Linked DNA regions of Homo sapiens: all the other regions are linked to region 3. Evidence: promoter capture Hi-C in 16 types of primary human blood cells and fetal thymus (Javierre and others, 2016). All regions are on one chromosome and are shown on one strand. The core of a region is centred on a gene start or on the middle of the fragment in contact, and the rest is flanking DNA. Distances in the headings are between cores, read along the strand shown. Region 1 overlaps CD4 (CD4 molecule). Region 2 has its middle 30 kb from the start of CD27. Region 3 holds the start of IFFO1 (intermediate filament family orphan 1). Region 4 has its middle 13 kb from the start of COPS7A. Region 5 has its middle 6.6 kb from the start of COPS7A. Region 6 holds the start of LTBR (lymphotoxin beta receptor). Region 7 overlaps PLEKHG6 (pleckstrin homology and RhoGEF domain containing G6).

Region 1 (2,700 bases), core at 5-2,504, 240 kb before region 3:
TAAAGTTAAACATAAATCTAGCACATCCAGGCACAGCACCTTTCCTTAAACTTATTTATGACACAGAGTCTTTGCTCATATGTTTTTCTGCTGACCCTCTCCTCACCTTCACCCTATAGCCCCACCACATTCCCCTCGCGGAGATAGTAAAGATAGTGATCAATAAATACTGAGGGAACTCAGAGACCAGCACCGGTGCAGGTCCTCACTTGCTGAGCGCCGGTCCCCTGGGCCCACTTTTATTCCTCTATACTTTCTCTGTGTCTTATTTCTTTTCTCAGTCTCTTGTCTCCACCTTGCGAGAAATACCCACAGGTGTGGAGGGGCAGGCCCCCTTCAGAGAGGTCAGGGGAGAAAGAGCAGAGGGCCATTTCTCTGTCCAATATCAGACCAACCCTACAAGGCCTCTGAGTGGGCCAAGCAGAAGGCGTTGGTCCAGGGTTTGGATGAAGGAGAGTTTCCTGTGCGCTTGGCAGACAGGCGAGACTGGGGGTGGTGGGGGCAGGGCAGAGAGGCTCTGAATGGACCATGGGGAATGGACAGCTGTAGATTAGAGGAGCGATTCCCAAAGTCCTGGATCAGTAGCAGCGGCAACATGACCTGGGAACTTGTTAGAAATGCAGATCCTCGGCCCCACCCCAGACCTGCTGAATCAGAAACTGGGGGTGGGTCTAGTCATCTGGGTTTTCACAAATCTCCAGGTAACTGATCACGCTCAAGTTTGAAAACCATAAGTTAGATGGAGAGGAAAGGGGAGAGGTGTCCCCATTCTGAGGTGTGCAAAGGTGGTAGGGATGTGCGAGGAGGCTTCGGAGGAAAGAGAGGGCTCAGGGAGGTGATGGTGGAAGAAGGTATGGGAAAAGCCTTTGAGGCTTGACTGTAAATCTTTTTATTTTTAGTTTAGATCCACTCTGTCACCCAGGCCAGAGTGCAGTGGTTCAATCATAGGTCATTGCAGCCTGGAACTCCTGGGCTCAAGTGATCCTTTCATGACAACACCCAGCTAATTTGTGCAGGCAGTGATTGCAAATATTGACAGGCAGGTCGAAGAGCTGGAGCTTTGTCCTGGAGGTGAGGGGACCCACTGCTGATTTTTTGGTAAAGATGTGGCATGGTCTGTGTGGAGCTTCGGGAAGCTTGATGTGGTAACTGGGGACCAGATGACATGGGACTGGAGCAGTGATTATAGGAAAGGCACCAAGATAGCACCTCAAAGGAAGGCTGGAGCAGGGCTCAAGTGTCTTTGAATCCAGGCCTAGGATATAAAGTGGGCTCAGAGAGGTGACTGCCTGGGGAAGGTGTCACCATGGACCTGGCCCCTGCTGGTGAGACAAGATCTTGCCTCCAGACTTACTCTGTCTTCCAAGCTTGGTCCTTCTTTCCCCCAGTGGCATCTTTGCCGTTGAAGCTTGGTGACGATCTGCCTACTCTGAAGTCCCACAGCACCCCGTTGACATGCTCCTGGGTGTGTTCCACCTTCTACTTTGTGTATAGTGATTTGGTTTCTCAACTCTCCTCCTCTAGCTTGAGCCCCTTGAGGACAGAGATGACAGTCTAGCCAGCTGTGTGGCCACCACAAGCCTGGCAGCAGCTGAGACATAGAGAGAGGACTTGGTATGGCTTTGGCTAACTTAAGCCAAATTGAATTGTATGGAGGAGCGAAAGTCACTGATTTCTTCTTTCTCTATTCACCATATTAATTCTGTTTCTAAAACGGGTCACTGAAATGTATGCACACATCCAGCCCAGCCTGGATGAAGCCCAGTCGCCCCAATCCAAGCTGTTCATCCCCACGGGGCCCTGCCAGCCACTCTCCATCCTGTCTGTGGCTCTCCACCAAGGGGCTGACAGCCACACATGGCTCATAGGCTCTCTTGCCCTCCAGCACCAGTCGGGGCTGGCCAGTGGGAAGTGCCTTTCAGAGATGAGATGGAAGGGTGGGGGAAAGAAGCTGGGATATTTTTCCTACTCTATCCCTGCCCTGGGCATATTTTCTGTCAATAGCTGTGTGTTCATCCTCACCTGCAGCCCTGCCCCTCCACAGCTTCTGTGGGGTGGCCCCTTATCCAGAGTGCAAGCACTCTCTGGGTTCCAGAAACACCATTTTCACTTCTTCAGGACTCTTCCTGCTGTTAATAGTGTCTGTGCTTCAAATTGATTGATTCCCTTAACCTATGTGAATAACCCCCTTTCTACAATCTCTTGAACCATGGGAGGTGGACTGTGTTTCCTGCTGGGCACTAAGACACAATCTGTGGAGAGGAATGGGGCACTCAGAAGGTGTGGGGGCTTGGTCCTCTTACGGTGGTTTAGGAGAAGATAAGAAAAGTGACTCCATCTTTGTTAGCTGCCTCCAGTTACTCCATCTGCCTGGAAGAGGAGGTAGCCAGGGCTTAATACGTGGTAGGTGCTTGAGATAGACAGGTAGGTAGATAGATGGATGGACAGATAGATAGATAGATAAAATAGATTAGATAGACAGATTAGATAGATTAGATGATAGATTGATAGATTAGGTAAATAGATTAGATAAACATACAGACAGATTAGATAGATGATGAATAAGATAGATAAAATAGATTAGGTTAGACAGAAAGATAGATTAGATAGATAGATAGATAGATAGATAGATAGATAGATAGAGACAGACATTTAGGGACAGACACAGTGGCTCACACCTGTACTCCCAGCACTTTGGGA
Region 2 (2,700 bases), core at 130-2,629, 140 kb after region 3:
TTCCACATCTGAAAAGTGGAGGAAATGGCGAGTTGTAATGAGGATTAAAAGTGATAGAACTTGTGCTTCATATGCTGTTACACATTGTATCAATGTTTGTTTGTTTCAATAGTCTACAAGCTTCTTGAAGGTAGGAATCATGTCGCAGACATTCCTGTCCCTAGCATGGCACCTGATGCCAGCAGGTGCTTAGTGAACCTATGAGTGAATCTCTTAGAAGGATGAAGGAAAGAACTGATTTCCCTATAAGACTTTAGTGCTGTGAGAATTTTCTGGACTCTCTCGTTTTAATTTTCTGGACTCTCTAATTTTATTTTTATTTTTATTTTTTATGTTTTTGAGACAGAGTCTCTCTGTGCTGTCCAGGCTGGAGTGCAGTGGCACGATCTTGGCTCAGCACAACCTCTGCCTCCCAGGTTCAAGTGATTCTCCCCTCTCAGCCTCCCAAGTAGCTGGAATTACAGGTGTGCACCACCACACCCAGCTAATTTTTTGTATTTTTAGTAAAGACGGGGTTTCGCCATGTTGCCCAGGCTGGTCTTGAATGCCTGAGCTCAGGCAGTCTGCCTGCCTTGGCCTCCCAAAGTGCTATGATTACAGGTGTGAACCACCATGCCTGGCCAATTTTTTTTTTTTTTTTAATTTTTAGTAGAGACAGGGTTTCACCATGTTGGCCAGGCTGGTCTTTAACTCCTGACCTCAAATGATTCACTCGCCTCGACCTCCCAAAGTGCTGGGATTACAGGAGTGAGCCACTGCACCCGGCCTTTCTTGATCTTAATTGATCTAACAGGCAATAGTTTGTTCAAAATAATAATAGCATCGTGTATTTGGTCATATATATATATGTTACACATAAGTAAAATGAATGATGGTAGTAATACAAAGGATGGGGGAAGTAATTAGGATTATTTTGTTATTATAAGGTACTTGCACTACATGTGAAGTAGTATGGTGTTATTTGAAAGCAGACTTGGATTAGTTTTAACTGTATATTGTAAACTCCAGAGCAATCACTAAAATAAAAGAAATGGAAAAAAAACAAGTATAGCTGATATGCTAAGAGCAAGGAGAGAAAATGGAATAATACAAATGCTCACTTAAAATTACAAAAGCCAGAAAAAGAGCGGAAGATAAAAGTAGGAACAAACAAGAGCAACAATGAGAAAACAGTAACAAATATGATAGGTATGAATCCAACTATGTCAATAATCACCTCGAATGTCAGTGGGGTCTGAATGCATCAATTAAAAGACAGAGACTGTCAGAATGAATTTTTAAAAAGCCCCAACTATATGTTGTCTACAATAAACCCATTTTAAATATAAAGGCACATACAGACCAAAAGTGAGTGGATGGAGAAAGATATAGTTAGCATTAATTAAAACATAGTGGGGCTGGGTGCAGTGGCTCACATCTGTAATCCCAACACTTTGGGAGGCTGAGGCGGGTGGATCATGAGGTCAGGAGTTCGAGACCAGCCTGCCCAACATGGTGAAACCCCATCTCTGCTAAAAATACAAAAATTAGCCAGGGCTGGTGGCGTGTGCCTGTAATCCCAGCTTCTTGGGAGGCTGAGGCAGGAGAATTACTTGAATCCGGGAGGCAGAGGTTGCAGTGAGCTGAGATTGCGCCATTGCACTCCAGCTCTGGGAGACAGAGCAAGACTCCATCTTGAAAAAAAAAAAAAAGGAAAAAAAAACAACAGTGGGCGTAGCTATATTAATTTCAGATGGAGCAAATTTCAGAGTAAGCAAAATTATCAGGCAGAAAGAGGGGCATTAGTTTCAGATGGAGCAAACTTCAGAGTAAGCAAAATTATCAGGCAGAAAGAGGGGCATTACATAATGATAAGGGGGTCAATTCTGCAAGAAGACATAATCCTTGCTGTGTTGCACCTAATAACAGAGCATCAAAAATACATGAGGCAAAAATTGTTACAATTGCAAGGAGAAATGATGAATCCACTATTAGAGATGGAGACTTCAACATCCTTCTTCCAGAAATGGACAGATCCAGCAGGCAGAAAATCATTAAGGATGTAGTTGAAATCAGCAACACCATAAATAACTGGATATAATGAACATCTGTAGACTGCTTCACTCAGCAATGCATTCTTCTTACAGTCACATGGAACATTCACCAAGATAGACCACACTGTGGACCATAAAGCACACCTTAACAAATTTAAAAGAGTAGAAATTATGCAATGCCTGCTCTCAAACTACAATGAATTAAAGTAGAAATCAATAACAGAAAGATAGCTGAAAAATCTCAAAATACTTAGAAATTAAACAATGTGATTCAAACAACCCGTGGGTCAAAGAAGAAATCGCAAGAGAAATTTTAAAATATTTTGAACTAATGAAAATGAAAACACAACTTATCAAAATTTGTGGGATACAGCGAAAGTAGTGCTTAGAGGGAAATTTATAGCATTGCATGCATTATAGTAGGAAAGAAGAAAGATTTATTATACAATCAACTACCTTAGAAACTAGAAAAAAAAGAGTAAACTAAATCCAAAGCAAGCAGAAGAGAAGAAATATAACGATTAGAACAGAAAGCAATAAAATTGAGAACAGGAAATGAGTAGAGAAAATCAACAAAACCAACAACTGGTTCTTTGAAAAGCTTAATAAAATTGGTAAGCCTCTAGTGAGACTAACCAAGAAAAAAATCAAGACAGAAATTACTAAT
Region 3 (2,700 bases), core at 39-2,538:
ATCACCTAAATTACAGTCCTCCAAGAAAGTTGCTTTCCTCAGGCAGAATGCCCCTCCCAAGGGCACAGACACACAAACACCGGCTGTGTTATCCCCATCCAAGACTCAGGCCACCCTGAAACCTAAGGACCATCATCAGCCCCTTGGAAGGGCCAAGGGGGTTGAGAAGCAGCAGTTGCCAGAGCAGCCTTTTGAGAAAGCTGCCTTCCAGAAACAGAATGATACCCCCAAGGGGCCTCAGCCTCCCACTGTGTCTCCCATCCGTTCCAGCCGCCCCCCACCAGCAAAGAGGAAGAAATCTCAGTCCAGGGGCAACAGCCAGCTGCTGCTATCTTAGATGGTTGAAAACTAGACGGGTGGCTCACTGCCATTGTCACCAGGTTGGAACTCTTGCCTCTGTGAGGATGCCTTCTCTACTGTGCATACCCATGAAATTTAATACACATTTTAAAACCTCTGGCCACTGAGTATTTTTGAGGGAACTGGGTGCTGCCTTTGCCGCTTTAAGGGTAAAGATGGGAGGTGGGACTGGGATCTTCTGAGGAGAGGGAATGGTTGGGTGCTACTGAGAAATAAGGTCAGTTTTAGGCTCCTGCATCCTTGGGTTTTCCCAGGAAGGGAAAGCCCTGGAGTCAGAGCTAGGGGTGATTGAACTCCGGGGAGAGGAGGGCAATAGAAGTGTAGGGGAAGGCGGGGCACACTAGCTCATGCCTGTAATCCCAGCACTTTCTGGGAGGCCAAGGCGGGTGGATCACCTGAGGTCAGGTGTTCGAGACCAGCCTGGCTAACATGGCGAAACCTCGTCTCTACTAAAAATACAAAAAATCAGCCGGGTGTGGTGGCGGGTGCCTGTAATCCCAGCTACTCGGGAGACTGAAGCAGGAGAATCGCTTGAACCTGGGAGGCTGAGGTTGCAGTGAGCCAAGATCGCGCCACTGCACTCCAGCCCGGGCGACAGTGAGACTCGGTCTCAAAAAAAAAAAAAGTCGTGTAGGGGAGATGGGCTTGCCACCAGAACCCATGGGGTACTGGAGGTCCTGGGCTTTACGCCACCCCGGCTGGAGTCCAGGCGGTGGCTCCCCTCATCACAGGGCTCGGCCTCAGACCCGGAAAGGTCCAGGGTCCGGCCTCCAATTGGAGCCTGTCATTGGCTTCCCCTCGGCCCGCCCCCTGACCTCTGCCCCGCTGCCGAGCCGCCTGATTGGTCGGCTCTGTCCCGCCGGCGCCGCATTGGCTCTTCTGGCTCGCCTTCCATCCCTGCTCCTGCACCGGTCTGCATCTCCCAGCAGAAGGCGCAGCCATGAATCCGTTATTCGGCCCCAACCTCTTCCTCCTGCAGCAGGAGCAGCAGGGCCTGGCCGGGCCACTGGGGGACTCACTGGGAGGCGACCACTTCGCCGGGGGAGGAGACTTGCCCCCGGCGCCTCTCTCGCCGGCCGGCCCTGCTGCCTACTCGCCGCCCGGGCCGGGCCCGGCCCCGCCTGCCGCCATGGCCCTCCGCAATGACCTGGGCTCCAACATCAACGTGCTCAAGACCCTGAACCTCCGGTTCCGCTGCTTCCTGGCCAAGGTGCATGAGCTGGAGCGCCGGAACCGGCTGTTGGAGAAGCAACTGCAGCAAGCGCTGGAGGAGGGTAAGCAGGGCCGGCGGGGCCTGGGTCGTCGCGACCAGGCAGTGCAGACCGGCTTCGTCAGCCCCATCCGGCCCCTGGGGCTGCAGCTGGGCGCCCGGCCGGCCGCTGTCTGCAGCCCTTCGGCGCGCGTGCTGGGCTCGCCCGCGCGCTCCCCGGCCGGCCCCCTCGCGCCCTCCGCGGCCAGCCTCTCGTCGTCCTCCACCTCCACCTCCACCACCTATTCCTCGTCGGCCCGCTTCATGCCCGGCACCATCTGGTCGTTCTCGCACGCCCGCCGGCTCGGGCCGGGACTGGAGCCCACTCTGGTGCAAGGGCCTGGCTTGTCGTGGGTGCACCCGGATGGGGTGGGCGTCCAGATCGACACCATCACGCCCGAGATCCGCGCTCTCTACAACGTGCTGGCCAAAGTGAAGCGGGAGCGGGACGAGTACAAGCGGAGGTAGGGATTGGGAAAGGGGGACAGGTCTCTCTGTGTCATACCACTCACAACGGGCCGCGAGTTGGTGTGGGTTCCGAAGAATCAGGGGTGAAAAGAATGAGAGTAAAGTTTGTGCTGTGTAATGAGGAGCTTGGAAGCAATTGGATGCAGGGAGACTAGAATCCGCAGAGAATGCAGAAGCCCTGCTCGTGACAGGAAGAAGGACGCTGGGAGCGGAACACGGGGGGATTCCTACTTTTCCGGCTTGTCTCTGCCATCCAGGCTTAACTGCGGGTTTTGTGCGGTGTGAAAGGGACTGGGGCTCTGCCCTACCGGTCTCAGCCCTGGGGCAGGTTAGGGATATAAACTTCAAAAGTAGGAGGCAAGGATATAGCGTAAATTTGGGAGACTAAATTGAGTGAAACTGGAAGGGGCTGGTGAGGGAGGGGCTGTACCTTGCAACGAGTGATTCTTTCACACCCCAAGGTTTCCCAAAGAATATTGATGGAAACCAGGTACCTGCTGTGGTTTCATAGGAAAAGCTCCGGGACCTCAAGCCATTGCTTGAGTAGGTCAACAAACTGGGAAAAGAAAGAGTGAAGGGAATTCACTAGGGTGAGGGTGGAGAGCAGGGCTGACAGGGGAATC
Region 4 (2,700 bases), core at 128-2,627, 180 kb before region 3:
TACAAATACTGAAACTCCACATACTAAACGCTAAAAATGCTTAGTTCTAGGTGAATTTATCTATTGATTTTTAATTTTTGAGACAGGGTTTCACTCCTGTTGCCCAGACTAGAATGCAATGGCACAATCTTGGCTCACTGCAACCTCTACCTCCCAGGCTCAAGCAATTCTCCTGCCTTAGCCTCCCAAGTAGCTGGGACTACAGGCACAGGCCACCATGCCCCACTAATTTTTTTTGTATTTTTTATAGCGGCGAAGTTTCACCATGTTGCCTAGGCTAGTCTAGAACTCCTAGGCTGAAGAGATCTGCCCATCTCAGCCTCCCAAAGTGCTGAGATTATAGGTGTGAGTCACCACACCTAGCCTTCTAGGTGAATTTATTTATTTCTTGAGACGGAGTTTCACTCTTCTTGCCCAGGCTGGAGTGCAATGGCGCGATCTCAGCTCACTGCAACCTCTACCTCCAGGTTCAAACAGTTCTCCTGCCTCAGCCTCCCAAGTAGCTGGGATTACAGGCATGCACCACCACGCCCGGCTAATTTTTGTGTTTTTAGTAGAGACAGGGTTTCACCATGTTGGCCAGGCTGGTCTCCAACTCCTGACCTCAAGTGTTCCGCCCGCCTTAGCCTCCCAAAGTGCTGGGATTACAGGCGTGAGCCGCGGTGCATGGCTCTAGGTGAATTTATAATTGTTTTAAAATTATATTTAGAGAATTCCCTCTTGAGACAAACATCAAATTTATGATTTTCTTTCAGCTGTCATAAACATTTTAAAGAACTTAAGAGGAGAAAAATAATCTATTATATTTACCATTGCTGCTGCTCTTCATCCTTAATGTTCCGTGTTTCCTTTGGTGTCATTTCTCTTCTGCCTAAAGAACTTCCTTTAGGATTTTACAGCGGGTTTTCCGGTGACAAATTCTTATTTTCCTTCACCTGAGAATATCTTTATTTCACATTCATTCCTGAGCAATATTTTCACTGGATATAGGATTTTGAGTTAATTCCCTTAAGCCCCTTAAAAGTATCATTCTAGTTCCACCTGACTTTCATAGTTTCTGACGAAAAATGTGCAGTCATTTGAGTCATTTTTATCCTGTGTGAAAAGCACTGTTTTTCTGAATGCTTGTGGGACTTTTTTCTTTGTCTTTAACCTTCGGCAATTTTATTCTGATGTGTCCAGATATGGATTTTTTTTTTTTTTTTTGAGACAGAGTCTAGCTCTATCACTCAGGCTGGAGTGCAGTTGGCTTGATCTCGGTTCACTGCAACTTCCACCTCCCAGGTTCAAGTGATTCTCCTGCCTCAGTCTTCCAAGTAGCTCGGACTACAGGCATGTGCCACCACGCTGGCTATGGACATGGATTTGAGTATATCTTGTTTGCTATCCACCAAACTTTTTGAATCTGTCTTTGTCTTTTGCCAGGTTTGGGAAGTTTTTGTTTTTGTTTTTGTTTTTGAGACAGAGTCTCGCTGTTGTCACCCAGGCTGGGGGAGTGCAATGGCACAATCTCAGCTCACTGTAACCTCCACCTCCCAGGTTGAAGCGATTCTCCTGCCTCAGCCTCCCAAGTAGCTGAGATTACAGGTGCCTGCCACCACGCCTGGCTAATTTTTGTATTTTTAGTAAAGGTGGGGTTTCACCATGTTGGCCAGGCTAGTCTCGAACTCCTGACCTCAGGTGAATGGTCCAGCTCAGCTTCCCAAAGTGCTGGAATTACAGGCGTGAGCCACCACATCCGGCCTAGTTATTGCTATTTTCTGTTTGGTTCTTTATATCTTCCATTTCTTTGCTAAGACTTTCTTTACATTTGTTTCAAAAGCATTCTCCCTTTCTTCTTCCTGCATGGTTAGACTGCTTGCAGCATTTGCTTTAAATTCCAACACTTCTGCCTCCTTGGGGTTGGCTGTCTTTTCCCTGGAGAGTTATTTGTATGCTGAGTCACCTTAAATCATACTCTGGATATTTTGAATATTATGGTTTGAGGCTCTGGGTCTTGTTAAAATCTTAAGGAGCATGTTGAACATGTTGAATGGTAATTTGTTTTAGCAGGTAATCAGGTTCAGGCAGCAAGTTTTGACCTGCCTTTTTGGCACTGTGGTTTCAATGTCGGTTTTATTTTAAAAGTGTTTGCAGTGCTATTTGGATCAGGCCGGCTCGGGTGCCACCCAGTGGCCAGTCAGACCTGGACAGTGATCCATTCTGTAATTCAGTTCACAAAGCCTTAGGTAGGCTGTTCAGGGACAGATCTACGCTTGCACAGCTCAGAGCTTAGCCCAGGAGTTCATAAACTTTTACGGGATTGTTCTCTTGATTTTCCTCCCGTGTCTCTCTGACATTTTTTGGGCCCCTGGGGCTTCCCTCTCCATTCCCATATGATCGTGCCACTGTACTCCAGCCTGGGTGACAGAGCAAGACATGGTCTCAAAAGCAAAATAAAACAAAAAACAAGATGTATTTGCCAATTGACTGATAAATGAACAGTAAGTATAGGATTGTCTATCTTGCCCCATTCCCCAAATTATGCATTTCCTATTGAGGGACAGGCAGCGGGTCACAGAATGAAGCCTTTCTGCCTGCAGGCCTTTATCCCACTATTCTTCCCATCCAAGATGCTCGCCCTCTCTTTCATCAGGCTAATTCCTACTTGGGCTTCTAGTTTCAGTTTAAAGGTCATGTCCTTGGAGGCTTTTCTGACCC
Region 5 (2,700 bases), core at 139-2,638, 160 kb before region 3:
AGTGCTGGGATTACAGGCGTGAGCCACCAAGCCTGGCTGGAAATTTTTTTTTTTTTTTTTTTTTGAGACGGAGTCTCACTCTGTTGCCCGGGCTGGAGTGCAGTGGCACGATCTCGGCTCACTGCAACCTCCGCCTCCCAGGTTGAAGCAATCCTCCTGCCTCAGCCCCCCCAGTAGCTGGGATTACAGGCACCCACCATCACCCCCAGCTAATTTTTGTATTTTTAGTAGAGACGGGGTTTTGCTGTGTTGGTCAGGCTAGTCTCAAACTCCTGACCTCAGGTGATCCACCCACCTCGGCCTCCCAAAGTGCTGGGATTATAGGTGTGAGCCACCATGCCTGGCCAGAAATTTTTTTTTTTTTTTTTGAGATGGAGTTTCACCCTTATTGGCCAGGCTGGAGTAAAAGGGCACGATCTCGGCTCACTGCAACCTCTGCCTCCCAGGTTCAAGTGAGTCTCCTGCCTCAGCCTCCCTAGCTGGGATTACAGGCATGTACCACCATGCCTGGCTAATTTTGTATTTTTAGTAGAGACAGGGTTTCAACATGTTGGTCAGGCTGGTCTGGAACTCCTGACAGGTGATCCACCTGCCTCTGCCTTCCAAAGTGCTGGGATTAGAGGCGTGAACCACTGAGGCCTGCCAAAACATTTTTTATTTTAAAAAAATGACATCATCAAGGCAAGTAGCACCAAACTTTCAAAGTACAGATCATATTAATTTTATACACACTATTGCAGAAAATAGGAAGAGAGAGCACCCCTTAACTTATTCTATGGGGCCAGAATCACCTTGATAACAAAATCAGCAAAGGGCAATAATGTAAAGGGAAATTTTAGTCCCATCTAATCAGGAGGCTGAGGTGGGAGGACCACTCAAGCTAGCAATTCAAGATCAGCCTGGGCAACACAGCAAGACCCTGTCTCAAAAAAAAAAAAAAAAAAAAAAAAAAAGGAAAGAAAAAGAATGAAAGGAAAATTGCCCAGCACAGTGGCTCACACTTGTAATCCCAGCACTTTGGGAGGCCAAGGCAGGGGGATCACCCATCAGGAGTTCGAGACCAGCCTGACCAGCATGTTGAAACTCCATCTCTACTAAAAATATAAAATTAGCCAGGCATGGTGGTGCATGATCACTCCTGATCACGAGGTCAAGAGTTTGAGACCAGCCTAACCAATATTATGAAACCCCCCTATCTCCACTAAAAACGTAAAAATGGCTGGGCGTGGTGGCTCACACCTATAATCCCAACACTTTGGGAGGCCAAGACGGGTGGATCACCTGAGGTCAGGGGTTCCAGACCAGGCTGGCCAACATGGCAAAACCCTGTCTCTACTAAAAATACAAAAACTTAGCCTGGCATGGTGGCACACACCTGTAATCCAGCTACTTGGGAGACTGAGGAAGAATTCCTTGAACCCAGAAAGACAAGGCTGCAGTGAACTGAGATCACACCATTGCAATCCAGCCTAGGCAACAAGAGCAAAACTCCGTCTCAAAGAAAAAAAAAAAAATTAGCCAGGTGTGGTGGTGTGTCCAGAATTGGTGGGTTCTTGGTCTCACTGACTTCAAGAGTAAAGTAGCAGACCCTCGTGGTGAGTGTTATAGCTCTTAAGGTGGTGTCTCTGGAGTCTGTCCCTTCTGATGTTCAGATGCCTTTGGAGTTTTTTCCTTCTGGTGGGTTCATGGTCTCGCTGGCTCAGGAACGAAGCTGCAGATCTTCCCGGAGAGTATTCCAGCTCATAAAAGCACCATGGACTCAAAAAGTGAGCAATAGCAAGATTTATCGCAAAAAGTAAAAAAACAAAGATTCCCCACCGTGTAAGGAGACTAGAGCAGGTTACTAATGCTGGCTGGGGCAGCCTGCTTTTATTCTCTTATCTGGCCCCACCCACATCCTGCTGATTGGTAGAGCCGAGTGGCCTGTTTTGTCAGGGCGCTGATTGGTGCGTTTACAATCCCTGAGCTAGATACAAAGGTTCTCCACGTCCCCATCAGATTAGTTAGATACAGAGTTTCCACACACAGGTTCTCCAAGGCCCCACCAGAGCAGCTAGATACAGAGTGTTGATTGGTGCATTCACAAACCTTGAGTTAAACACAGGGTGCTGATTGGTGTGTTTACAAACCTTGAGCTAGATAGAGTGCCGATTGGTGTATTTACAATCCCTGAGCTAGACATAAAAGTTCTTCACGTCCTCACCAGAGCAGCTAGATACAGAGTGTCGATTGGTGCATTCACAAACCTTGAGCTAAACACAGGGTGCTGATTGGTGTATTTACAATCCCTGAGCTAGATATAAAGACTCTCCACGTCCCCACCAGACTCAGGAGCCCAGCTGGCTTCACCTAGTGGATCCCGCACCGAGACTGCAGGTGGAGCTGCCTGCCAGTCCCGCGCTGTGCGCTCGCATTCCTCAGCCCTTGGGTGGTCGATGGGACTGGGCGCCGTGGACAGGGGGCGGCGCTCGTCGGGGAGGCTCGGGCTGCACAGGAGCCCATGGAGGGGGTGGGAGGCTCAGGCATGGCGGGCTGCAGGTCCCGAGCCCTGCCCCGCGGGAAGGCAGCTAAGGCCCGGCGAGAAATCGAGCGCAGCGCCGGTGGGCTAGCACTGCTGGGGGACTCAGTACACCCTCCGCAGCCACTGGCCCGGGTGCTAAGTCCCCCATTGCCCGGGGCTGGCAGGGCTGGCCGGCTCCT
Region 6 (2,700 bases), core at 176-2,675, 170 kb after region 3:
CATTTAGCTGAGACATAGGTGCCTAGAACGTGAGTGGAGCAGTAGAGCCTCAGGAGACGAGGCTCCACCCTCACCTCCGCTGCCTGTAGTGTGACCCTGGCCTTTCCCTCGGTCTCTCTGGCCCCCCATCATCCTGCCAGTGGCCCTCCGGCTCCCTCTCAGTGAGGTAAGGAAAGAGGAGGCCCAGTGGGGAGGGCCAGTCCCATCTCCTCCACGTGATGTCCAGGGTTTCCCACGCTCGTCTCCAGCAGCCAGTTTTCCTGGGGGACAGTGCCCACCTTCCCTCTGAGGCCGCGAGGGGGCTGGAGCCCCCGTGACCCACTTCCGAGGCCCAGGTTCGTCCTGCCATTGCCTCTCACCTGGCGGGCAGCGGGAGCAGCAGATGCGGTGCTGGGGCTCATAGTATTCCTTTTCCTGGTCCCTGCAGGTCTGGTTCTCCGACGCATATGGAGGCACCTTCAAAGGGAGATGGAGAAGAGGAGAGAAGAATTAGTCAGGGGTCAGCTTGGGAGGGCAGAGGGAATGGAGCGACGGCTGCCCAGATCCCTCTTGCCCACCCTCGCCCACTCCTACCAGGCCCCTTCCTCACCGCCTGGGGCTGCGATGCTGCCAGGAGCCCGAAGAGGCCCAGCACCAGAGGCCCCCAGGCCAGGCCGGGGGCAGAGGTGGCCCAAGGCAGGAGCATGGCGGCCACTCGGCCAGGCGGCCAGCAACGTGGGGGCCTGGGAGGAAGGCAGGAGGCCCGACGTCCTGGGCAGCGGTGGCGGCGGCTGCCCGAGCCCAGAGCCTGGGACGGGACTCAGGGCCGATGTGCACCCCAGGGCCGGGAGCGGCCAGGCCGGGCCTCCAGGGCTCCCATGGCGGAGCTCAGGAAGTGGGAGTGGAGCGAGCTGGCCGCGGGGCGGGGACAGGGAGCGCTGGGAGCCAGGCCGGCCTGTCGCAATCGCAGCCCAGGGAAGAGGAACAGGCTTGTCTGCCTCGATGCGGGGCGGGAGGGGCGGCCGGGAAAGCACGTGAGGGCCGCGGGGCCGGAACCGGCCTCCTCCCTTCTTCGGAAGCCCGATCGGGAGAGCGGACTGCGGACAGCCCTGGCCCAGCCGAGGGAAGGGCGGCGGGCCCGGGGTCAGCCCTTGGACAAGCCTCGCAGGGAGAGCAGAGGGAGTTCCAGAGAGCGCAAGGGACAGCTGGGTGCGGGATCTGGAAAGCGAGGGGCCCAGGACGGGCAGTCATGGAGAGGGCAGGGCGCGGGGACTGCAAGGCCGCAGAAGCAGCTCTGAGACCGAGGAGAACCGGCTGGCAGATGCCCGGGTTCCTCCCCCGTTGTCCTGCCCTACTGTGGGAGTTTTTCAGACAAATTACAAGGGACTAGCAAATCAGCCAGCCCCCCACGCTACCAACCCAGCCCAATCCGCACAGGAGTGGGCACAGGTCACCTAGGAGACCCTTGAGAGCTGTGCAGCTTGCCCTGCTCCCTGTCCTCAGGGAACCTCCCTCCCAAAGAGAGGGGGAGGATATGCGGAGGGGAGTCCTGGGGCCAGCAGGCTGGACCTGGGCACTCAGTCCCTCTGCTCTGGCTTCTTTGCCCATGAACCTTCAAACCCCTTAGAACTGGAGAAAGCTGAGAGCCCACGCAGTCCAGCCCCCTCACCTTAAGCATGGAGAGGGAGGCTAAGGGTGATACATAAGGGAACCGGGATTCCAGGGTGGCCTGGTCTCGTTCCTGCCCTGTTTCATCCTCCCATCTCCCTCAACCCAACACCCCACCCACCCGTGGAGTTACTTGCAGCTGCCCCCTTTTACACGTGGTTCTCTGGTCCCCAAGTTTCCGTCTTCCTAACTCCCACCTGTCCTTGAGGCTTCACTGAGGCTCTGGAAGGCAACCTCTGCCCTAGGTTGCACAGTCCCCGTGAAGACTGCCCTCTGTACCTGGCTGTCTTGTTTGCTTCCCACCAGGCTGTGAGTGCCACCATGGCCCAGGCTGAATCTTCAAGTCTGTGTTCCCCATGCTTAGCAGAGTCTGGCACATACCATGTGCCCAATAGGTATTTATGGAATAAATGAGTGATGGCCACATCACAGAGCCAGTCCACCGCAGAGCCAGCTACAATCTGGGTCTCCTGATGTCTAGGTCCCAACTCATTCCAGCAGTCCTGCCAACTCCTTGTGGCTCAGGGATGTCTCCCTTGGGATGAGGGGCTAACCTCTCTTGAGATAGGTCACTTGGGCACTATCCCCCTCCCTGAAGGACTCTGTTCAGCACTCGTCCTTACACTGGTCTGTCTAACTTCAGGTCTGATGTCTGGACAGGTGCAGGTGATGGGAAGTGTGCATGGGGAGGAGAGGTCACAAAAGGGGGAAAGGACCTGCCTAGGCTGTAGGCATTTCACTCTGTGAGGCTCTCTCCCCTCACCTGGTGCAGGCAGCTCACCGTACAGATGGGCCAAAGATGGCTGGAAAGGGCAGAAGTATCAGAACAGCATGCACTGCGCGGGGCTGCTGAGCCTTCCAGGGCCCTAGCGCTGGGGGCTGGGATGAGAGTCCCTGCTGAGCTCTTAAACGCGTAAAGGAATGTGTGTGTAGCGACCCTAGGTCCTTTTTTCTCTCTCTTCTTTTTACTTTTTACTGTGGAAATTCCACATGCAAGATAATATACCAAAAGAGAAAAAGTAATATTGGGAGTCTCCCATATACTCCTTACCC
Region 7 (2,700 bases), core at 167-2,666, 240 kb after region 3:
ACTTTACATATGTGGCAACTGAGGCCCAGAGAACTTTACTGTCTTGACCAAGGTCTGACTAGTAAGTGGCAGAGCTGGGATCTGAACCCAGATCAACGCGTTTCCAGATGTTTTTTCCACATGACCCCACTTCCCAAGGCCTTTCCCTCCTCTAGAGCAGAATCTGTGTGTGCATTCACGCCGTGGGGACAGACTCACCTTGTGAGTTTCAGGCTCACCTTGTGCCCAGGCACCAGCTCCCTCCAGGACTTCTCGATGGTCAGGCCACTGTCGCCACCCTCTCCTATCTCCCAGTGCCGCCGGTCCTCAGGGGGCAGCCGGGGCATCCCAAACATGCTGAAAGTGTGCAGCCTCACCTCCAGCTCATGGGCCTTGGTGAGTTCCTGGGGGAGCCGAGAAGGGCATCAGCTCTGGTCACATCCTTGGCACCCAGCCACAGGGCCCCGGGAGGGCTGTGTGTGTGTGCATGTGTGTTAAAGTGTGTGCGTGTGTCTGTGTCTGGAATGGGAGATGGCAAGCAGCACTGAGTATGAGTGGGGACATGGAGGCCTAGAGAACAGGGGTCGGCCCCAGCTGGAATTCCAGGGAAAAAGGCATTGCTGGAATGTGGGTGAAGAGGCACCCTGGTCTGTGGAAAGGTCCCTGGAGAGGGGTCTGATCTAGGCTCCCTGACAGGAAAGAGGCCTTCCATGGGTCTCCTGAATCAGAATGAGGTGGGGGAGGGACAGAAACAGACACTTCAGAGGGACCTTCAAGTGAATCAGAACAAGACTTAGAGAACCAGTGGTCTCAGGCACCACTTTGACATTTGCCTATAAAATGGCATTTTTTATGAAGCAGCATGGCTTACATTTTACAGGTTTCTTTTTTTTTTCCTTTTGAGACAGAGTTTTGCTCTTGTCACCCAGGCTGGAGTGCAGTGGCGCAATCTCGGCTCACTGCAACCTCCACCTACCGGGTTCAAGCGATTCTCCTGCTTCAGCCTCCTTAATAGCTGGGACTACAGGTGCCCGCCATGACACCCAGCTAATTTTTTTTTACATTTTTAGCAGAGACGGGGTTTCACCATGTTGGCCAGGCTGGTTTCGAACTCCTGACCTCAGGTGATCCGCCCGTCTTGGCCTCCCAAAGTGCTGGGATTACAGGTGTGAGCCACCACGCCCGGCCCATTTTACAGGTTTCTTTGGTACCAAGAATGTGAGCAATAGACACTCCTGACCCTCACTCACTCCATCTGGATGTGGCTTGGGAGGAGAGGTGAGGCTCACAGTGGCAGTGAAGGATGATGTGGCACTGAGGATAGAGAGAGCATACCTGACTCTCAGCAACTTGGTAATTTGACTTGGTAGTTTTCAAAAACTGAAAGCTCAATATCAATCGTTTATCCACATTTAATCAAAGTGTCTCAAGTCAAAGTCCCTGGTTGCCATGCATGGACCAAAGAGAGATATATCCCTGAGAGGTCCTAGGCAGAGCCATGTCTGACTGGCAGGCAGCAGCCTCCTGGACCTGTGTTCTCAGCTCCCGGAGCTTGCTGGTCATCTGCGGAGCCATCACAATTGGGGCCGTATGTGTGGGGATGGGAGGAGAGGGACCCCCTTACCTTGAGTTTGGGGGAGTGAAGCAGGCCAGCCCCCACATGGCCCCCGTGCCTCTTCTCGGGCTCTGGATCTCGCAGTCTCATGGGTGACAGGCCTCGGGCCTGGCCAGAACCCCTGGCAAAGGGGACATACTGCTGGAGGCGTCGGCGACTGGGATCCTGGGAGAGGAGCAGGGGAAGTTCTGGGGGTGCCTCCCTTTCCCCAGAAACCCCAGAGAGGTAGTAGGGGGGCAGGCTTGGCTCTAGATGTTGTTCCCCCACCCTGGTAAGTCGGGCTGGCTCACTTCTCCCTGCAAACCAGTTTGGTGTGGACTGCTCCTGCCCTGAGTCACAGCGGCCACTGCCGGCAAGGCTAAGCTGAGTGGGCAGAGGCAAGACAGCCTGGCTCCCTGAGTGGGCCTGGGGAAGAAGTGGGGCCTCCTGCCGAGCAGGTGCACAGCACACACATGCCTGGGCTCTGGTGTGTGTGCCCCCACTGCCTCCTGCTCTCCGTACCATGGGGGGTGCATGGACAAGGCGTGGTGCACACAGCATTCTGGTCTCTCGTAACTCTCCTTGTCTATGACCAGCCTCCCTCACACATGGGGACGAGGGCACTCACATGTGCAGCCTTCTCCCCAGGGGCGTGCAGCCTGCATCCCATCCAGCTGGGAGTGGCTGCCCTTCTGTGTGAAAGGCTGAAGCCACAGCCACACAGCTCCTCCCAGGGCAGGCCTGGTCACATTCCTTCATTTGCCTGTGGCCTGAATTACCCCACATACTTTCTAGTCTCCCTTCTCACCCACAGCCTAGGAAAGTCCCATCTCCAAAGGCAAAATTATCGTGCATTGAGGCAGGGGATGTCCCAGCCACAAGCAGAACTGTCCTCAAGGTGGAGGGGAAACCTGCAGGCTGAGGGACAGACCTGGCTTCCACACCCCTCTGCTTGGTTAGGACTGGAGGAGAGCCAGGCAGGTGGAGCCAGGGGTGGAGCCAAGGCAGGCACCCTCCTGTCCCTACCCACCACTGGAGGAGTAGGGACACCCTGAACCTTTGCTCATCTTCATCCTGACTCAGGGAGAGGCAGATCTCAGGAAGGCCTCAAACTCCTGCCAAGCAGA

What was found. Contacts are between HindIII fragments. The CHiCAGO score rates a contact against its expected background, and 5 or more counts as called.
Region 1: a contact is called between a fragment that was not itself captured here and the fragment with the promoter of IFFO1 in region 3, in 14 of 17 cell types (activated CD4 T cells, total CD4 T cells, naive CD8 T cells and 11 more). The highest score is 25.2, in activated CD4 T cells.
Region 2: a contact is called between a fragment that was not itself captured here and the fragment with the promoter of IFFO1 in region 3, in 16 of 17 cell types (activated CD4 T cells, total CD8 T cells, naive CD4 T cells and 13 more). The highest score is 14.1, in activated CD4 T cells.
Region 4: a fragment that was not itself captured here is called in contact with the fragment with the promoter of IFFO1 in region 3 in 6 of 17 cell types (non-activated CD4 T cells, activated CD4 T cells, naive CD8 T cells and 3 more); the score reaches 7.5 in non-activated CD4 T cells.
Region 5: a fragment that was not itself captured here is called in contact with the fragment with the promoter of IFFO1 in region 3 in 9 of 17 cell types (erythroblasts, total CD4 T cells, monocytes and 6 more); the score reaches 8.0 in erythroblasts.
Region 6: a contact is called between a fragment that was not itself captured here and the fragment with the promoter of IFFO1 in region 3, in 5 of 17 cell types (activated CD4 T cells, non-activated CD4 T cells, total CD4 T cells and 2 more). The highest score is 8.4, in activated CD4 T cells.
Region 7: a fragment that was not itself captured here is called in contact with the fragment with the promoter of IFFO1 in region 3 in 11 of 17 cell types (non-activated CD4 T cells, naive CD8 T cells, activated CD4 T cells and 8 more); the score reaches 13.6 in non-activated CD4 T cells.

Annotation. Positions count from the first base shown.
Region 1 is chr12:6,795,042-6,797,741 of GRCh38, reverse strand. The region is part of intron 1 of CD4 (CD4 molecule); the gene reads right to left. Among named protein-coding and RNA genes, the nearest start is that of CD4, 6.9 kb to the right of the region's middle. The HindIII fragment of the contact is 231 bases long and covers 1,139-1,369 here.
Region 2 is chr12:6,414,018-6,416,717 of GRCh38, reverse strand. No RefSeq gene overlaps it. Among named protein-coding and RNA genes, the nearest start is that of CD27, 30 kb to the left of the region's middle. The HindIII fragment of the contact is 2,514 bases long and covers 123-2,636 here.
Region 3 is chr12:6,554,630-6,557,329 of GRCh38, reverse strand. IFFO1 (intermediate filament family orphan 1) reads left to right here and starts at 1,288. Exons shown (of 10, transcript NM_001193457.2): 1 at 1,288-2,073. The coding sequence starts at 1,301. NOP2 (NOP2 nucleolar protein) reads left to right here. Exons shown (of 16, transcript NM_001258308.2): 16 at 1-459. The coding sequence ends at 337. RefSeq lists silencers at 1,111-1,270, 1,321-1,560, 1,671-1,850 and an enhancer at 2,311-2,700. The HindIII fragment of the contact is 7,963 bases long and covers 1-2,700 here.
Region 4 is chr12:6,735,337-6,738,036 of GRCh38, reverse strand. No RefSeq gene overlaps it. Among named protein-coding and RNA genes, the nearest start is that of COPS7A, 13 kb to the right of the region's middle. The HindIII fragment of the contact is 5,757 bases long and covers 1-2,700 here.
Region 5 is chr12:6,716,129-6,718,828 of GRCh38, reverse strand. No RefSeq gene overlaps it. Among named protein-coding and RNA genes, the nearest start is that of COPS7A, 6.6 kb to the left of the region's middle. The HindIII fragment of the contact is 9,962 bases long and covers 1-2,700 here.
Region 6 is chr12:6,382,344-6,385,043 of GRCh38, reverse strand. LTBR (lymphotoxin beta receptor) reads right to left here and starts at 882. Exons shown (of 10, transcript NM_002342.3): 1 at 590-882; 2 at 360-456; 3 at 1-22. The coding sequence starts at 685. RefSeq lists an enhancer at 964-1,829. The HindIII fragment of the contact is 3,962 bases long and covers 1-2,700 here.
Region 7 is chr12:6,312,688-6,315,387 of GRCh38, reverse strand. PLEKHG6 (pleckstrin homology and RhoGEF domain containing G6) reads right to left here. Exons shown (of 16, transcript NM_001384598.1): 3 at 1,604-1,759; 4 at 219-383. Among named protein-coding and RNA genes, the nearest start is that of PLEKHG6, 3.4 kb to the right of the region's middle. RefSeq lists an enhancer at 2,241-2,550. The HindIII fragment of the contact is 4,394 bases long and covers 1-2,700 here.